2 separate regions of the Homo sapiens genome follow, and region 2 is linked to region 1. The links are contacts of gene promoters, found by promoter capture Hi-C in human tissues and cell types (Jung and others, 2019). All regions are on one chromosome and are shown on one strand. The core of a region is centred on a gene start or on the middle of the fragment in contact, and the rest is flanking DNA. Distances in the headings are between cores, read along the strand shown. Region 1 holds the start of HAPLN1 (hyaluronan and proteoglycan link protein 1). Region 2 has its middle 190 kb from the start of HAPLN1.

Region 1 (2,556 bases), core at 23-2,522:
TGTAGGTAAATGGAATTTGTTAACTGATATAAGAATTATGAATCATATCACATTAAAAATTCTCCAAAGATAACTACTATGATATACTTTTGATAGAACAATATTCCCATTCCATTAAAATACTGAAATGACTGAAATGTGTATAAAATCTCTGCAAATTTAGTACACAGAAATAATCACATAGAAATAGTTACCAGAAACTACAATTGTAATGAATAAATATTACATTCATTTAGAAATCAATCCACAGCCTTAATTTCTTAAGAACTATTAGCTTCCAAGAAGCCAGCCAGTATGTTTGATTTTATGACATCACACTGGAACATGTACAGGAACACTTTCCACCCTAAAAATTCCCAAATGTACTGGCCACTGTGTGTATTTTTCCAGTGATAAATGAAAATAAAGCAACTTATTCTCAAATTAATAAGCCATCTTATTTTGAACACAACAGTCACATTCAATGGAAGAAAACTACTTAATCGAAGCCCAAACAAGTTTAGGTTTGTTTTTGGTGGGGAACAGTCTCAACATACAAATAATTTCTTTAAGCAACTTTTAACAGTAATCTTAACTATGACTATAAATTCTCTTCAGTGCATTCAAATTATCCATCAACATCATTGTATATATGAAATGCATCATCATTCTATGATCTTAAGTTCATAATTAGCTGGAGAAGGAAGCCTGGGCCAAAAATGGCAACATTTCTAAGATTATTAATCTAACAGGTATTACCTATGCCTAAAGTAACTTTCTTTTTCACATAACCCTATATATTCTCTGAAACAAAATTCATAAGCCTGGCTGGACATTCCCATTCCTCACCTTTCCCTTCAGCCTATACTATCCTTGTTTCATCTCAGGTGCTATAAAAATGGTTGTTGAGATACAGATAGAAAAGTCACCACTTGGAAACCATGACCCTACCAGATTTACAGGAGCACTAGCAGAAGCTAAGATACTAGAGTTAATTCTTTCTCCATTTTTAGACTGAGCCTGTTTATTGTAGTGAAATATTTTATCCGACAATATGAAACTTTTTTAAAAGTTGAGGTGTCATATTAAATTCAAATGAAAACTAAACTCAAAAGAAAAGAATAAAATTTGTTTAATGTATATATACATTGCATGTGTATTGCCCTCTGAAATCTTAAAGGCACAAAGGTATAACCAAAAGAGGGGGAAACAATTTGCAAGTTTTACCTTGTCCTGAAATCCAGGAGTTCGGATGCTCTCAAGTTCTGCTTAAGTTGGAAGCTGGAGATCAAGTGAAGCTAGCGCTCTTTCTCCTCACCTTAAGTTTGTCTCTGGGCGAGTGTGAGAGTGTGTGTGTGTGTGCGTGTGTGAGTGTGTGTGCAGAATGTCTCTTTGTGGCGCTGGATGGCAGAGGTCCTGATCCTGGGAAGAAGGAGGCACTTTCTCACCAAGAGCAGAAGAAAAGCAAAGCGTCACCAGGAAAGTTCTCCTCCCAAATCCCCTAATTACAGCCTAATGTGCACTTCATGCAAACTTCAGGGAGGAAGGGAGGGGCAGCTCTGTGCCCAGACCTTGTAAAGCAGCAGCCTCTTAGATGACTTTCCCCTCTGCTCAGATCCCGAGTATCCCGCTCTGGGGTTTAGGAAAGCCGGCCGCTACAGCCACACAAGCCCCCACCACACCACACCTCCCGAACCCGAACCCTCATCAGTCCTGGGTCTGTCCAGAAGGGATGGGACAAGGGGTCTGTGGAATGATCTGCGGGGCAGCGGTGTGAGCAGACTCCTCAGGACAGTCAGTTTGCGCTTTGTTTTATTAGCCTCTGCTTAAAAGAAAAATCCAAGGGTCGGAGAGGTCCTCTCTTTCCCGCCTTCCCCTCACCAAAGGAGATCAAGGATAACAGACAATGATGATAGTGGCACATAAAGCTTCTTAAACTGGAGATGGCCTTCCACCCAAATCACCAGAAGCATATTTTCTGGTTTACTGGACTCAGTATTGGTGTTGAGTTTAAATTTCTCTTAACAAACAACTGCTATTGTATCCTTGGATGACAGAGCTCAAAGAACCTGGATTTATTTATAGAACGAGGAATGCGAGGGGGAGACGGGATGGGTGGGGTTGGGTTGTGGATCCATAACCAGGATTAGAACCAGATGGGCACAGGGCGCGCGCGCGCACACACACACACACACACACACACACACACACACACAGACACACACACCCCTGAAATAACCAGTGGGGAAGATGCTGGGACACGCGGGAAAACGCCTCCTGAACAAATAGACGTTTATTTATAACTTCTGGGAGAGTATATAGGTCCATTGATTCCCGCCTTGAGTAACCAAGGGTTTTGGAGAGGAAATGGCTTCATATTTCAATAACAGAGCCACCTTTGATGGAGTCTAGGAAGGGGAAAAAAGAAACACACCGCAGGAAGCAAACGGCTGTTGGAGCAGCCGGGAGGAGGGAGCGGGGCTGGCCCTGGGACTGAGGACAAGCAAACAAGCTCGAGGGGCCCGCGGCCAGGGTGGAGGCGAGACGCAGGCCGTCCCCGAGTTGCAGCGAGCAGGG
Region 2 (2,556 bases), core at 27-2,526, 190 kb after region 1:
AGTTCTTCACATTAGAAAATAGAACACTTAACCTCCCAGGGAAGTATGTTCCATTAGATTATATCTCCAAAGTATGGAACAATTCATTTCCAGGAAATAGGTACTTGAACAAGAGGCTTTATGAAAGTTATTTTTTCCATACAAAGTCATATTCCCACTTCCCATCCATTTACAAGAAGCAAAGTCTTAGTAGTGTTATAATGAATAGCTGATCTTTACTTCCATTTATTAACATGTAAGAAATATTCAGATCTAGCCTCAAAGTACGCAGCCATGTAAGCAAGAACAATTAATGGTTTAAGACATAAAGTTCAGAATCCATTAAAAATTGTAGTCTGGTCATTAGGTGATGAGTGGCAAAAGGCATTTAAAAAATGTTTTGAGGCATTTTAAATGACACGAGACTAGACGAGAATAGCTTGTATATAGAATAGTGATTCTCACCGTTTTTATATCAGAGATGCCTTGAGAATTTTATGCAAGTATAGGTCCACTTAGAAACATGCACACACAAAAAATTTAGGGGTTTCATTGAACCCTCCAAGTCAATTGTCTATCAGGTTTTGAATCTTTCTTTGCCCTAGACTTGCTTTCTAGTGCTTCTTTCCTTAGGAATACACATGCAACATGATGACTGTGGAAAACCAAGAACACTTGAGAGCAATGGAATCACATAGCATACTTCTGAATTTCACGAAGCATTGGATTTTGGTCTCAGTGAAATCGACTCCTGTATTACCAGTGCCATTGTCTTTCTCATGACATGGTAAAGGCTTGCTTTTGCTGCCGGAATAGCCTCTTAACTGTTCAGTCTGTTACTCTTCTTGCATCTTCCACTCCCTGTCACACTGGCTGCCAGAGCCATCAATCCAAATTATTCATCTCACAATTGGAACCCTTCACTGCCACCTCTACCTCATAAGCCCAAGTCCTGTATCATGACCTTTCATCTTGCCCCTGGGTATTATTCCAGCATCACATCCCACAGTTCCATTTTCCTCATACCCTCATTAGATGCTCAATAATTATACTCCGTCATTGCAGAAACTTTTATAGTTCCCTGAAACACAAGATCATGATCTATAATCTTCATTCTTCGCCCATTTGCTCAGACTTGACTTTCATCTCTTGTTCCCCTTGTGAACCATTCCTAATTCTTCAAAACTCAATGCAGAGTTCAGTTCCAGTGGGAACCCCTCCCAGGCAGTGCTAATCACTTCTCCCTCTGATTCATGGTATCTTGAGCAGGGTTCTAGTGTTGCTGAATAGGAGTCAAACAGATATTTTTGAATGAGTGGATTAATGAGCACAGGGAAGATGAGTTACAAAGCACTTTTTTTCTTTCTTGGGGAACATAGGTTGTTTTATGAGGGGAGAGCACAGGGTACATATTGGGATGCACTAGGCAGTTCTAACATGGCCCCATGCTACCACTTTTTGGTTTTCATGCCCTTATACAATCCCCTTCTCTAGAGTGTGGGTAGGCCTCACTTCTAATGTATATGATGCAGCAAAAGTGATGAGATGAGGTTACAAAAGAACGACTTCATTCTTGCTTGCATTCTCTCTCTGGCTCTTCTTGCTTCTTGCTCTGTTGAAGCCAGATGCCAAGTTGTGAGCTGCCGTATGGAGAAACCCATGTGGAAAATAACTGAGAGTAGCCTCCAGTCAATAGCCAGGGAGGGAAGAATCCTGCCAACAATCATGTGAGCAAGCTTGAAAGCAGATTCTTTTTCAGTTGAGCTTTGAGAGGAAAGCAGCCCCAGGTGACATTTTGAATACAGCCTTGAGAGAGATGCTGAGCTAGATAACCCAATTAAGCCATTCCTGGATTCCCAACCAACAGAAATGGCAAGATAATACATGTTATTTTAATCCACTAAGCTTTAGGGTAACTTGTTATGCAGCAATATGTTACCGATACGTAAGTGGTGGGAGATAAGACCAGAAAGACAGTTTGAGTCTACATGGTGAAGGGCCTTGTATGGCATGTGAAAGAGCAGTAGGCAGAAGAATGTCTTCCCACCACCCACTCCCAAGATGTTCATTTCCTAGTTCCTGAAAACTGTGAATGTATTAGGTCACATGGCAAGGTGGAATTCAGGTTGCTCCTGGAATTAAGGTTGCTAATGAGCTGACTTTAGAATAGGAAGATTAGTTTACATTATCTGGTAGGCTCAATGTAATCACAGGCGTCCTTACAATGCAATTACAGAGGGCCTTGAAGAGGAAAGCAGGAGAAACAGAGTCAGGGAAAGAGATGTGATGTTGAAAGCAGAGGCCAGAATGTTACAATTGCTGGCTTTGAAGATGCAAAGGGGCCATGAGCATCTGAAGAAACACAGTCAGCCTTCAGATGATAGAAAAGGCAGGGAAATGGATTCTCTCCCAGAGCCTGTAGAAGAAGCCCAACTCTTTTCACACCTTGATTTTAGTTCGGTGAGACCCATTTCAGACATGTGACCTGCAGAACTGTAAGATGATAAATGTGTCTTGTTTTAAGCTAAAAAAGAAAAATAATTCTAGTTATGCTTTTATTATACCATACTTAAATTT

The links. Contacts are between HindIII fragments. The study calls those that stand out against the background at their distance.
Region 2: a contact is called between a fragment that was not itself captured here and the fragment with the promoter of HAPLN1 in region 1, in 1 of the 25 tissues and cell types used here (hippocampus).

Annotation. Positions count from the first base shown.
Region 1 is chr5:83,719,583-83,722,138 of GRCh38, forward strand. HAPLN1 (hyaluronan and proteoglycan link protein 1) reads right to left here and starts at 1,273. Exons shown (of 5, transcript NM_001884.4): 1 at 1,207-1,273. The HindIII fragment of the contact is 27,926 bases long and covers 1-2,556 here.
Region 2 is chr5:83,906,740-83,909,295 of GRCh38, forward strand. No RefSeq gene overlaps it. Among named protein-coding and RNA genes, the nearest start is that of HAPLN1, 190 kb to the left of the region's middle. The HindIII fragment of the contact is 3,146 bases long and covers 1-2,556 here.